5 separate regions of the Homo sapiens genome follow, and all the other regions are linked to region 4. Evidence: promoter capture Hi-C in 16 types of primary human blood cells and fetal thymus (Javierre and others, 2016). All regions are on one chromosome and are shown on one strand. The core of a region is centred on a gene start or on the middle of the fragment in contact, and the rest is flanking DNA. Distances in the headings are between cores, read along the strand shown. Region 1 holds the start of ZMYM4-AS1 (ZMYM4 antisense RNA 1). Region 2 overlaps ZMYM4 (zinc finger MYM-type containing 4). Region 3 overlaps ZMYM4 (zinc finger MYM-type containing 4). Region 4 holds the start of TMEM35B (transmembrane protein 35B). Region 5 overlaps ZMYM4 (zinc finger MYM-type containing 4).

Evidence for each region. Contacts are between HindIII fragments. The CHiCAGO score rates a contact against its expected background, and 5 or more counts as called.
Region 1: a contact is called between the fragment with the promoter of ZMYM4-AS1 here and the fragment with the promoter of TMEM35B in region 4, in 1 of 17 cell types (megakaryocytes). The highest score is 5.4, in megakaryocytes.
Region 2: a fragment that was not itself captured here is called in contact with the fragment with the promoter of TMEM35B in region 4 in 1 of 17 cell types (megakaryocytes); the score reaches 5.0 in megakaryocytes.
Region 3: a fragment that was not itself captured here is called in contact with the fragment with the promoter of TMEM35B in region 4 in 2 of 17 cell types (fetal thymus and naive CD8 T cells); the score reaches 5.9 in fetal thymus.
Region 5: a fragment that was not itself captured here is called in contact with the fragment with the promoter of TMEM35B in region 4 in 3 of 17 cell types (naive CD8 T cells, megakaryocytes and naive CD4 T cells); the score reaches 5.7 in naive CD8 T cells.

The regions. Positions count from the first base shown.
Region 1 is chr1:35,364,611-35,367,410 of GRCh38, forward strand. ZMYM4-AS1 (ZMYM4 antisense RNA 1) reads right to left here and starts at 1,467. Exons shown (of 2, transcript NR_046659.1): 1 at 1,356-1,467. All of the region lies in intron 5 of ZMYM4 (zinc finger MYM-type containing 4), which reads left to right. The HindIII fragment of the contact is 9,120 bases long and covers 1,142-2,800 here.
Region 2 is chr1:35,320,603-35,323,302 of GRCh38, forward strand. All of the region lies in intron 1 of ZMYM4 (zinc finger MYM-type containing 4), which reads left to right. Among named protein-coding and RNA genes, the nearest start is that of ZMYM4-AS1, 44 kb to the right of the region's middle. The HindIII fragment of the contact is 525 bases long and covers 1,189-1,713 here.
Region 3 is chr1:35,284,306-35,287,194 of GRCh38, forward strand. The region is part of intron 1 of ZMYM4 (zinc finger MYM-type containing 4); the gene reads left to right. Among named protein-coding and RNA genes, the nearest start is that of ZMYM4, 17 kb to the left of the region's middle. The HindIII fragment of the contact is 1,700 bases long and covers 504-2,203 here.
Region 4 is chr1:34,984,007-34,986,706 of GRCh38, forward strand. TMEM35B (transmembrane protein 35B) reads right to left here and starts at 1,341. Exons shown (of 3, transcript NM_001195156.2): 1 at 1,192-1,341. The coding sequence starts at 1,299. It overlaps ZMYM6 (zinc finger MYM-type containing 6), which reads right to left. Exons shown (of 16, transcript NM_007167.4): 16 at 2,159-2,700. RefSeq lists silencers at 900-969, 1,030-1,319. The HindIII fragment of the contact is 1,524 bases long and covers 598-2,121 here.
Region 5 is chr1:35,302,744-35,305,443 of GRCh38, forward strand. The region is part of intron 1 of ZMYM4 (zinc finger MYM-type containing 4); the gene reads left to right. Among named protein-coding and RNA genes, the nearest start is that of ZMYM4, 35 kb to the left of the region's middle. The HindIII fragment of the contact is 6,308 bases long and covers 1-2,700 here.

The sequences.
Region 1 (2,800 bases), core at 217-2,716, 380 kb after region 4:
TACTATTAGCCTCTCATAAAATACTGATAGATTTTACAGTTGTGGTCAGTGTTTACTTTTGACCATCAGTTACCAGTAACTTCTTTCATGGTTCAATAAAATCATAGCTTTAGTTTATGGCACCTTTTCAAAACTTCCTTTGGCTTTTCTTTGTGCTTAATTTAGGTAGTTTTGCTTTTAGCTCACTTCCTAATTCTCTTTTTTACACAATTCATTTTGGTCCTAATTTCTTTACTTTACTATATAAACAAGGTGCTGAAATGTGTGTGTATGTATTTAACTTCCTCTACCCATTTGCTCTTGGTTATTTCTTCAGTTATGATATTCTGGATTTGCCAGTCATTGTCCGTCCTCCTGCCTCTATTACTGGCATAATGTCATTGGGTCTCACAGTTTCATTTCTTCATTCTAATTCTATTGCATGTTTCTATAATGTTTTCTGTAGTATTTTTACAGTTACAGATGCTTTTACACGTACTGTGTTGCTTAATTCGCCTAACAACCCTGTATAAGATGGCCAGAGTAGAGGATGTTAACATTTATAGGTGAGAGAGCTGAGAGATATAGAGATTTAGTTACTCAAGCCCTCATGGCCAGGAAGGAGCCAATCTGGGGTCATAATCAAAGTCTTTTTTTTTTTTTTTTTTTTTTTTAGTCTACCAATCTTTCTGTAAATAAAAGTTGTTTAATTTTAAAAATACCAAGGGAAGGTTTCAAAATAGATACTTTAAAGAGAGCCAGAGACCTCATTTTCCTCTTTTGCCTTTTCCATAGGGTCTAAAAACTGTACATTCAGTAAATACTACATTAAAGTCATGATTTCTTTTTCTTCTTGTTCATAATAATAGAGGACGAGCTAATGTGTAGTCTCTCATTGAAAGAACTCAATTAAAATGGGAAAGCAAATGAACTAATTGTCATAATAGTCATTCACACAGTTTTGGAAAGAAAATGTAGTAATTCAAATGTTGGGGCTCTTTTAGCCATATTGAGTTAATTTGGCAATAGAAACTGTGTTATTCATTTCTAAAATACTTTCATGGGATATTAATATTGATCTTCATTTGTAGTAAACTAAGAAGGTAAAGGTATTGGTAAAGGAATTTTTTTGTGTTTTGGCATGTGTTTTTCTGCTTCTGAAAGCTTTTGGGTTACCAATTAGATATTTACTTCTCAGAAAATATTTATTAGTATTTGGCTACTCATTGATTTGTTTATCAAATACTTGTAAAATTAGTGATCATGGGAGGATCCAAACATAAACCAAACATGATTGTGCCTTGAAGGCATTGTGGACCATACAAACAGTACTTAAGATGTATACTATTTTACTATATTACATAAATAATACGTACTCAAGGCTAAAGGAATCCAGCAGAAGTTTGCAATAGCCATCACAGAGACTAAGAGAGCTGACTGCAGACCGTTAATGTATGCCAATGAGTATTGGTTGTTTCTGGAGTTTTCTGAGATTAAAATAAAAATATTTAAGGAAATTTTCTTTAATACACTATATAATGAAGGAATGTCATGATTAGTCGATGTTAGAAAATCTTTTAATACATATATTTCATCAGCAGGTCAAATAAGGGTATCTGTAATAGTCACTTTATTAGATGCCAAAAGACATCTCATGTAATTCAGACATTTCTTAGAATAGATTTTTTCTTGATCATAGTAAGGAACTACTACTTCAGATCAGTAACAGTTATTGAAGTTGAAGTAAAATGATGGAAATCTTCTGTTAATATTACTAAAAGAATACAAGTTGCGGATGTCATCGTTATTATTTAACTCTTGTTGGATTTTTACTTCAATCCATGTTAAAGAAATTAGAAGAAAAAATAATGGAAAAAGGGAAATAAAATTATCACTTGCTATTAAGAATATTTATGAAAGAATTAATAGAATTCATGAAAATTTAGTGGAGTACCTAGTTGAATTATACCAATACTTCTATAAATAAACTTCCCAGTTAGATGATATAATGAAAAAGATACACTATTCCCAGCAGCAACTAAAAAGTACTTATATCAAATACAACTTGAAATAATGAAGAGACCATCTTTTTAAATGTAAGAAATATGTAGATGTCAGTTATTTTTAAATTAAGATTTAAGGCCAGGTGCGGTGGCTCACGCCTGTAATCCTAACACTTTGGGAGGCCAAGCGGGGGGCGAATCACTTGAGGTCAGGAGTTCAAGACCAGCCTGGCCAACATGGTGAAACCCTGTCTCTACTAAAAAATACAAAAATTACAGAAATTAGCCGGGCGTGGTGGTGCATGCCTGTAATCACAGCTACTCGGGAGACTGAGACAGGAGGATCACTCGAGCCTGGGAGGTGGAGGTTGCAGTGAGCCAAGATCGCACCATCGTGCCCCAGCTTGTGGGATAAGAGTGAAACTCCATCTCAAAAAAAAAAAAAAAAATTGAGATTTAGATTTGATGCAATTCTGATGAAAATATCAATGGTTAGGTTATGAAGTTTTGTAGAAGAATAATAGGCATGCACATACACACACTTATTACACATATATTCTAAAAAATGGATGGAGAGGTTGAATGTGGCAAATGCTGTTAAATGGTTGAACATCATACAATTAATTAATTTTTTTTTTTTTTAAAAGACAGAGTTTCACTCTTGTTGCTCAGGCTGGAGTGCAATGGTGCAATATTGGCTCGCTGCAACCTCTGCCCTCCCACCACCCTGGGTTCAAGCGATTCTCCTGCCTCAGCCTCCTGAGTAGCTGGGATTACAGGCGTGCACCACCACACCCCGCTGATTTCTGTAATTTTAG
Region 2 (2,700 bases), core at 201-2,700, 340 kb after region 4:
ACAGCCTGGGGCTTGTGATTGGTATCTGAAGTGGGAGGCAGCCTTGTTGGACTGAGCCTTCAACCTGTGGGATCTTACTCTTAATTCTAGGTAGATAGTGTCAGAATTGAAGTGAATTATAGGACACACAGTTGGTGTCTGCTAGATATTTGGTGTGTGATGAAAAAGTCCCACATATCTGGTCACTGAAATGTTCTGTGTTGCGAGACTGTTATAGCAGAAAAATAATCTTTTGTTTGTTTTTTTCTTCAGGGTGCACTTTTGCCTGCCCTGGCTTTGAGAAGTGTAGGATTTCTAATCCTTTATAGAATCTTGATTTCATTTAGGTTCTATTGAAAGAAACTAACTAGATTGTTTTTTGTTTTTAATTTTTAACATTATTCTAAAGGTCTTTATATAAAGCGCTCCTTTTTATTGATTTTGTGTTTAGTCTCCAAAGTTGGATTAAAACTCAAGGTTTGTATAACCCCTGTTATCTGTCAGCAGGTTGGTCTACAAAAAGAATGGGATATGACCTCATACAGCTTCAGAAACCTGTATGGGTACTTGATTCTTTATAGCATTCCCAACTTGGGAGTAAAGTTATTATAGTTGTTACACAGTCACATTGGTCGTAGTATCACTAGGAAAGAGCTGTGAATTCTACTTTGTTCGGGAAGTTGGGTGTGTGTGGGTTGTGTGTGAGATTATGGTACCATAGAGGAGTAGCAGCTTTAGCTTGAAGCTGAGTATATGTTTACTATTGAATTAAGACTGGAAAAGCTTAAGCACTGTGCACAGTGACCCAGATGCTTGAAACTACCTGAAAGGTTGGGTGAGCAGCTATAGGTTATTTATCATGGCTGGAGCATTTGCTTACAGGATGGGGATGTAATGGGAATGTGAAGGCAGGAAAAGATAAAGCTGTAGAGGAAATTAGGGCTAGATTTTGGAGAGTCTTATATATCCACAGAAGTTTGGACATTTTTCTTGGGAGACTTTCAGAGCTGTGTGTGTGTGTGTGTGTGTGTCCTTCCCCTTAACCTCTCAGTACCTCCATTTCTTCACCTATAAAATAGAGGTGTTAACAGTACCTACCTTATGAGATTTTTGGGAGATTAAATTGGATTAAATCATATAAAGTACTTGGAAAAAAAGTGTCATAAACTGGGCATGGTGGTGTGTTCCTATAATCCCAGTAACTCATGAAGCTTAGTTGGAAGGAATTAAATTTTAAAAAATTAAATATTTAATTTTTTTAACCTAGTGATCTTTTTTAACCTAGTGATCCCACTTCTAGAAATTGATCCTACAGATATACTCACATACCTAAGCCATATCATATGTATACAGATGACAACTGCAATATTGCATTTAAAAAAAAAAAAGCAGGAGGCAACCTTAAAATGTTCATCAGTATAATATAATAAGAGACTGTGCAGCCACTGGAAAGAATGAAGTAGATCTCTGTATAATTTTCCAAGATATACTATTGGGTTTTTTAAAAACAGGGACATTTCTATGTCTCTCTTCATTTTGTATCTTTACCAGTCTGAGAGAAAATGGTATCTCAATTTTGATTTTGGGTAAGATTGAATGTTTAGTGCTTGTTTATGTTCTTTGATCACTTTCTATTGGGATAGTACTCTTTAATTGAGTCCAAGATTGCTTTATACATAGAATATTAACCATTATTATACTACTACTACAACTTTTTCATTCATATTACCTTTAAGCTTTTCCAAACAATTTTTTAGAAATATAGTCAAACTTTAAAATCTTTTTCATGAAGATCTCTTTTTCTGGTTAAAAGACTTTTCTATCTTCTAGGGCTTTTATTTTTTTTTCAGTTTATTTTTAACTTATCTGGGATTAATGTTGATGTGAAGTAGTGATTGTGATCCAAATTTTTTCACCTTAAATGGTTGTCATCTTCTAGTTCTCTTTTTTCCTTTAGGAGTGAGAATAGATCATTGGGTTTAGCAGTGTGGAGGTCGCTTATGACCTTGACGAGAAAAGTTTCAGTAGAAATAGTGCAGGCAGAAGCCTTACTGAAGTGGGTTCAAGAGACAGGTGTCGTAGGCAGCATGTATAGACAACTTTTTTTTTGTTTTGGTTTTGGTTTTTAGATGTAGTCTTGCCCTGTTGCCCAGGCTGGAGTGCAATGGCGTGATCTCGGCTCACTGTAACCTCCGCTTCCCAGGTTCAAGCGATTCTCCTGCCTCAGCCTCCCAAGTAGCTGGGATTACAGGTGTGTGCCACCATGCCCGGCTAATTTTTTTGTATCTTTAATAGAGATGGGGTTTCACCATGTTGGCCAGGCTGGTCTTGAACTCCTGACCTTGTGATCCACCTGCCTCGGCCTCCCAAAGTGCTAGGATTACAGGCGTGAGTCACCACGCCTGGCTTTTTTGTTTTGTTTTTGTTTTTGTTTTTGAGACGGAATCATGCTTTGTCCCCTAGGCTGGAGTGCAGTGGCACAATCTCGGCTCACTGCAACCTCCACCTCCTGAGTTCAAGTGATTCTCCTGCCTCGCAGCCTCCCAAGTAGCTGGGATTACAGGTGCCCGCCACCACGCCCAGCTAATTTTTGTATTTTCAGTAGGGATGGGTTTTTGCCATGTTGGCCAGGCTGGTCTTGAACTCCTGACTTCAGGTGATCTGCCCACCTTGGCCTCCCAGAGTGCTGGGATTACAGGCGTGAGCCACTGCACCCGGCTG
Region 3 (2,889 bases), core at 104-2,603, 300 kb after region 4:
TGTGTTTTTCTTTTGTAGCTTATGCTTTTGGTATCATATTTAAGATGCTATTGCTAGATCTAAGTTCATGTAGATTTTTCCCTATGTTTTCTTCTAAGAGTTTTAGTGTTTAGGTCTTTAATTTAGGTCTTTAATCCATCTTGAGTTAATTTTTGTTTATGGTACAAAGTAAGTGTCCAGTTTCAATCTTTTGTGTATGAATATCCAGGTTTCATAGCACCTTTTGTTGAAGAGCCTGTTCTTTCCCCATTGAGTGGTCCTGGAAACCTTGTTGAAAGTCAGTTGACCATCGTATCAGTTTGGGCTGTCGTAACACAGTATCATAGTCTGGGTGGCTTAAACAACAAATTTATTTCTTACATTTCAGGAGGCTGGGAAGTCCAAGATCAAAGTGCCCACAGGTAGGTTTTATTTTCAGGCCTTTTCTCTTGGCTTGTAGGTAGCCACTACCTTGCTCTGTGCTCATGTGATTTCTTAGTGTTTGTGAGGTGAGAGAGAGTGTAAGCTTTCTGGTGTTTCTTCTTAGAAGGGCATTAATCACATCATGAGAGCTCCACTCTCACTACCTCATCTAGCTGATTACCTTTTAAAGTCCCCCTCTCCAAGTATTATTACATGGGGGGTTAAGGCTTCAACATATGAATCTGGGGAGGAGGGATACAAACATTCAGACCATAACAACGACAAATGCGAGAGTTTATTTCTAGACTTTCAGTTCTGTTCTATTTGTCTATATGCCTGTTCTTGTGTCAGTACTACACTGTTTTGATTACTGTAGCTTTGTAGTAGGTTTGAAATTAGGAAGTAGGAGTCCTCAAGTTTTTTTTTTCAAGATTGTTTTGGCTATTTGGGGTGTGTTGAAATTTCACGTGAAATTTAGGATGGTTTTTTCCTATTTCTGAAAAAAGAGTTATTAGGATTTTGACAGGGATCAAAATTGAATTTGTAAATCAAGGGTAGTTACTGTCATCTTAACAATGTTAAGTCTTCCAGTCTGTGAACATGGAATGTCTTTCCATTTATTTTGGTCTTCTTTTATTTCTTTCAGCAATGTTTTGTACAGGTCTTTTAGTGTACAAGTCTTGTGCTTCCTTGGTTAAATTTTTCTCAAGTATCAATCAGTATAATCTACCACATTAGTAGAATGAAGAAAAAAAAGAACTCACTACAGTCTGTCCTTTGTATCTATGAGTTCCACATCTGCAGATCAAAAATATTTGGAAAAAAAAATAAAAGGTAATACAAATTTATTCCTTAATCAAGGACCAGAGGAAAAAAAATACAACATTTAAAAATAGAGTATAACAACTGTTTGCATAGTATTTGCATTGTATTAGGTGTTATAAGTAATCTAGAGATGATTTAAATTGTATAGGAGGATGTGTGTAGGTTATATGCAAATACTATATATAAGGGACTTGAGCATTCAAGGATTTTGGTATCTTTGGGGGGTCCAGGGTCCAGTCCCCCACAGATACTGAGGAATGACTAAATCATCTCAGTTGATGCAGAGAAAGTATTAAAGAAAAGCTAACATCCTTTCCTTTGTAAAAGCACTTTAATAAACTAGGAAAAGAGGGGAATTTCCTCAACATGATAAAGGCTACCCATGAAAAATCATTGCTTACATCATATTCAGTGGTGAAAGACTGAGAGATTTTATCCTCAGATGAGGAACAAGATGAGGATGCCTTCTTTCACCATGTCTATTCAGTGTAGTATTAGAAGTTCTAGCCAGAAGTTAAGCAAGAAAAAGGAAATAAAAAGCATTCAAATTGGACAGGAAGAAGTAAAACTATCTCTATTTAAAGGTGACATGATCTTATACGTAGAATACCCTTAAAGTTATGCCAAAAACAAAACTGTGCAAGTTAGTAAGAAATTCAGCAAAGTTGCAGGATATGGCATCAACACACAAAAATCAGTTGTATTTATGTACACTAGAACAATCCCAAAAGGAAATTTTAAGAAAACAATTTCATTTACATTAGAGTCAAGAAGAAAAAAAAAATACTGAAACACCTGTATCCCTTTGACTTAACTCCAATAGTCCTTGAAAGATTCCTCCCCGTCCGCCAAAAAAATAGAACCAGGCTCATCTATACATACGCTACTTCAGACCTGGAATTAACTTGTTTTGCAAGACGCCTCAGTACCTTTCAGTGGAAGATGTTATCTGGAGACCACAGCCTGAACTCAGACAAGCTTTTTGAAGTTAGAATCTTTATGAGATGGTGTAAGTTGCTTATTTCCCATTCACTCCTGAGCCTGCCTGCCTCTGTCTGCCTATTTTTTTTTTTTTTTTTTTTAAGAGACAGGATCGTACTCTGTTGCCCAGGTTGGAATGCAGTGGCATGATCACGGCTCACTGAAGGCTTGACCTCCTGGGCTCAAGCAATCCTCCCACCTCACCCACCTGAGCAGCTAGGACCACAGACAATACCCTTGTGCCTGGCTATTTAAATAATTTTTTTTTTTTTTTTTTTTTTTTTTTTTTTTTTTTTTGTAGAGACAGGGTCTCCATATGTTGTCCAGGCTGGTCTTGAACTCCTGGGCTCAAGCAGTCCTCCACCTCTGCCTCCCAAAGATTATAGGTGTGAACCACCCTGCCTGGCCCTAGCTTATCTTTCTGTTTTGGCACTGAAATTCTTCTCTTTAGGAACACTGAAATGATCTAATAATCACCAAATCTAATGGATGCTTTTCAGAGATTATTTTATTTGACTTTTCTTAGATCTTTATTTGACCTTTCTTATTTCTGTTGCCCTTCCTTCCTCGACTTTTTCCTTGTTTTATGAGATGGCATTCTCATGGTTCTCCTCTTGAATTGCTCTTTTTGCGTGCTCAATAAGTGTTATTCCCTCAGCTTGTATTTTCTTGAGCAATCTC
Region 4 (2,700 bases), core at 91-2,590:
TGCTCCATGGCATATCTATGCCTGTGCCCTCAACTTCCCAGAGAAAAGAACTACTACTCTAGGTCAGGTCCAGGGCTGAGGTCAGCCTGAAGAGGAGAGGGCTGCCCTGTGGCGCTGAGCTTTGGAATCAGGAAACAGGCTCCATGCTCCAAGTGGTACAGAGATTGATCTTCTCACTAGACCTCTCAAGAGATTACAACCCAGCCCCAAATCCCAGGAGGAGGGGGCTGGGCTTGGCTCCCTAGTGCCAAGGCCTGGGGAATTCCACAGTTTCCTTCTTTGTGTCTGGCCTGGTTTCTCTTAAGGCTGCTGTACAGGGAATATTTGGAGGTGAGGCAGAGTTAGGTGGGCTCAAAGTGACTCTTCTTGTCAAGGCAGGCCCTCCCCTGAGCCAAATGACAACTTCATCCTTACTTTCGGGGATACTTTTTCCTGTTCCCACTCCTCAGCTCTACCTCCCCTCCTCAGCTCTGCTGGGAAGCAGCTCTAAGCTGTCTGTCTCTGGGGATTTATCCAGGCCTTGGAGAGAGATGCCAGCAGAGGTCTACAAGTCTGGCTCTTTTGAGGGACTGGGGAGATTGGTGAACAGGATATGAAAGCTTTCCCATGAGTCTGGAACTAGACAGAAGGCTGAAAGACGACTTCAGGGCATCCCTCTCAGGCTTCCGAGAGAGGCTTCCCTCTCTGGGTTCCGAGTTAGGAGTGTCTAGCTTGTGTCCTGCTTCCTGACTAGATGTGCAATCTTTAGCAGATATACTTGCCCTTCAGGGCGGGCTTCCTTCCCTGCAAAGCCAGGATTACTACACCCCAACCCCACGAACCTCCCAAAAACTGAAGCAAACGGCGAAAAGAGGGAAGAGAGCGGGAAGTGAGCTCATTTTCCCACCGCATCATCCTCCCCCAGGGTCCGGGGGGGTGGGAGGGACCTCCTAAGGCTCTAGATTTGCCTGGGGCCACCAATATTCTGCAGGAAGGGGAGGTTCTGTCCCCTTCCGTCTAGGGAAGATCCAGAGAACTCGAGGAACTCCCCAGGCAGGACCTGCGCCTCAGTCGAAAGCCAGGCGCTTTCCCCCAGCTCCAGCTGAGCCTCGGAAGCCCGAAGGCGGCCTGCCGGGCCGGGGGCGAGGAGCGGCAGGGCGGAGCACACGCCGCCGCGGGCCCGATCCCCTGCCGCCCGCCCGCGCCGCTCACCATCCGCTCCGAAACTGGAGCCGAGATCTCCTCCGAGAGCTTGGCCAACCCCACGAGCGCGAAGAAGCCGCCCAGCAGTACACGCAGCACCGAAAGCAGGAGCGCCATGGCCGCGCTCCCCCCACCGTGGGTTGGCCCCGCCGAAAACCCGCCCCTGCCGCCGGCTCATTTCCTCCCTCCCCGGGGCAGCCGGAAGACTCTCGCCTGAGCTACCGTCCCCCACCCTCCAGGGGGTCGCGAGGCTGCAGTACTGGGGCAGGGCGCCCCCATCTTACAGGTGGGGACACTTGAGGACCACTGGCTGGTAACTGACTAAACAGGCACCTTTGGATTCAGGGAGTGTTTCCCAGCCAATACGGAGTGCTGGCAGACACGGGTGGGTGTCTGGGTGCGGTTCAGCTACCATCAAAAGACCCCGGGCTTCGTTCCTGCCTGTGCCACACTAGCTGTGGGATCTGAGCTGTCACCCACCCCAAAGGGCCTCAGTATCTGCATCTGTATATGGGGATAACTCAGTTCTCCAGAGTTTGTAACAGGCCTAGCACAGTGCCTGCACATGTAAGAGCTCAGAAAGTTATTTGTAAATTAGTAAATTAATTTATAAAATTGTAATAAATCAATAACCATTAATTATTAAATAAGTCTCTTTGCCTGAGATATCTTTTCCCTCTAATTTATCTCGGCTGACAATGAAATGTGAAAGGTGTTTGAAAATTCAGATACTTGCATGGATAGAGAGGCTTTCACTGAACCAAGCCCTACAGTCCACTCCTGGCCCATTTGCTCTTACCTGGAAATCTGTCTAAAGCTGGGATGGGCAAACCATGGGCCAAATTTGGCCAGATGTCTGATTTTTTTCCATGCTTCTCCCCTTCCCCCAAGCTAATAATGTTTGTTTACATTTTTTATGATAAAAACATTTTTTAAAGAAGCTTGTGTGACATAGGAAAATTATATGAAATTCATATTTCAGTGTTCATGAATAAGTTTTATTTAAAAACAGCCACACTTATCTGCATATTGTCTATGGCTGCTTTTGCACTGCAACTGCAGAATTGAGTAGTTGTGACAGTATGGCCTGCAAAGCTGAAAATATTTACTATCTGGCTCTTTATTTAAAAAGTTTGCTAAGCCCTGGTATATTGGGCCAGAAAGGCCCCAAGCAGGGGTCTCAAATCCCCCTGCTGCTTCCATTTATAGTTACCCAAGCTGCTTAGATCTATCTTTTTCCAGCTGGGCACGTTGGCTCACACTTGTAATCCCAGCACTTTGGGAGGCCGAGGCAGGTGGATCACTTGAGGTCAGGAGATAGAGACCAGCCTGACCAATATGGTGAAACCCCGTCTCTACTAAAAAAAATACAATAGACGGGCATGGTGGCACATGCCTGTAACCCCAGCTACTTGGAAGGCTGAGGCAGGAGAATTGTTTGAACCTAGGAGGCAGAGGTTCCAGTGAGCCAAGATCACGCCATTGCACTCCAGCCTGGGCAACAAGAGCAAAACTCCA
Region 5 (2,700 bases), core at 181-2,680, 320 kb after region 4:
CTTCTGGGCTTATGTGATCCTCCAGCCTTGACCTCCTAAAGTGCTGGGATTACAGGTGTGAGCTACTGCACCCAGTCTGGCTTTTGCATTTTAAAGAGCTGTTTTTAAAAAGAGAGCCTGATGTGGTGGCTCATGCCTGCAATCTCAGCTACTCTGGAGGCTGGAGGTGGGAGGATTGCTTGAGGCCAGGAGTTTGAGACCAGCCTGAGCAATACAGGGAAACACTGTCTCCAAAAAAAAAAAAAAATTATCCAGGGCATAGTGACCACGCCTATATTCCTAGCTCCACCAGAGGTTGAGGTGGGAGGATCACTTGAGTCTAGGAGTTCGAGTCCAACCTGGGAAACCTGGCAAAAAAAAAAAAACAAAAAAACCTTGTCTTTGCAAAAAATCCAGAAATTAGTTAGGTGTGGTGATTGCCTGTAGTGCCAGCTACTCTGGAGGCTGAGGTGGGAGGATCAGTTGAACTTGGGAGGTCGAGGCTGCAATGAGCTGTCATGGTACCACTGCACTCCAGCCTGGTGACAGAGGGATACCTTGTCTCAAAAAAAAAAAAAAAAGAAAAGAAAAAAAATTGCTTATAGTATTTCTTTATATTCCTTGTAATGTCTGTAGATTTGTAGTGGTGATCTCTCTTTCATTCCTGATATTGGCAATTTGTGTTTTTTGTTTGTTTGTTTGTTTGTTTTTGAGACGGAGTCACCCAGGCTGGAGTACAGTGGCACAATATCGGCTCACTGCAACCTCCGCCGTCTGGGTTCAAGCGATTCTCCTGCCTCACCCTCCCAAGTGGCTGCGACTATAGGCACGCACCATCACACCGATCTAATGTTTGGATTTTTAGTAGAGACAGGGCTTTGCCATGTTGGCCAGGCTGGTCTCAAACTCCTGACCTCAAGTGATACATGCATGAGCCACAGCGCCCAGCCTATATTGATCTTTTGATAGAACTCATTTTTGGTTTCACTGATTTTTATGCTGTTCTTTATTTTCTATTTAATTTATTTTTGCTTTTATCATTATTTGATTGATGTTTGCTTTTATCTTTATTATTTCCTTCTTTCCACTTATTTTGGGTTTACTTTGCTTTCTTTTCCTAGCTTCTTGATTTGGCATCCTTCTTTAAGTTATATCAATAACTTATGGTTTAAAGCTATAGACATTTCTAAGCCCTGCTTTAAGTGCATCCCCAAACTCTTAGTAAGTTGTGTTTATATATCATTCAGTTCAAAATATTTACTGAGTTTTCTCTGATTTATTTTTCTACTTACATTACCATACAGTTTCTTTTTTTTTTTTGAAACGGAGTTTCGCGCTGTCGCCTGGGCTGGAGTGCAATGCCATGATCTTGGCTCACTGCAACCTCCGCCTCCCACATTCATGCGATTCTCCTGCCTCAGCTTCCTGAGTAGCTGGGATTACCGGTGCATACCAGCACACTCGGCTAATTTTTTGTATTTTTAGTAGAGATGGGGTTTCACTATGTTGGCCAGGCTGGTCTCGAACTCCTGACCTAGTGATCTGCCCGCCTTGGTCTCCCAAAGTGCTGGGAGTACAGGCGTGAGCCACCGCGCCCGGCCATACAGTTTCTTTAGAAGTATGCTTAATTTCTAATTTTTGATATTGTAATTATCTTGTTTTATAGTGATTTCAAATTTAATACCACTGAGGTCAGAGAATGTATTTTCTATTATTTCAGTTATTTGATTTTTTTTTCTTTTTTTTTTTCTTTGAGACGGGATCTGGCTCTGTCATCCAGGCTGGGGTGCAATGGCTCGATCTTAGCTTACTGCAACCTCTGCCTCCTGGGCTCAAATCATCCTCCCACCTCAGCCTCTTAAGAGTACCTGTGACTATAGCGTGTGCCACAATGCCTGGCTAATTTTTTTTTTGTATTTTTTTTTTTTTAGATATGGGGTTTCACCATGTTTCCCAGGCTGGTCTCCAGCTTCTGGCCTCAAGCAATCTTCCCACCTTGGCCTTCCAAAGTGATAGGATTACACGTGTGAGCCACCACTCCCAGCCTCAATTATTTGATTTCTATCGATGCTCTTTTTTTATGGTCCAGCATATAGTGTATCTTGGTGCCTCCACAAGTAAACTTTATTTTTTATTATTTTTTAGACAGAGTCTTGCTCTGTCCCCAGGCTGGAGTGCTGTGGCGCAATCTCAGCTCACTGCAACTTCTGACTGCCTGGTTCAAGCGATTCTCCTGCCTCAGCCTCCTAAGTAGGTGGTATTACAGGCATGCGCTACTACGACCAGCTAATTTTTGTATTTTTAGTAGAGATGGGGTTTCACCATGTTGGCCAGGATGGTGTTGATTTCCTGACCTCGTGATCCATCCGCCTTGGCCTCCCAAAGTGCTGGGATTACAGGCGTGAGCGACTGCGCCCAGCCCACAAGTAAACTTTAAAAAGTGCATACCAAGTTATTAGGTGTAGTGTTTCTATAAATACCACTTGGGTCAAGTTGGTTGGTAGGGCTGTAAAAATCTTCTGTGTCTTACTTGTTTTTTTGTCTTGTTCTAACTGACAGAACTATAAATCTGCAGCCACAGTTGGAGATTTTACTTATCTCTTTAGTTCTGTTTTTTGCTTCATGTATTTTGAAGTTGTATTGTTAGTTGCTTCACATATAGAGTTATGTCTTGTTGATGATCATATTTAGTGACTCTATTCTTTTTTCTTTCTGTTTTTT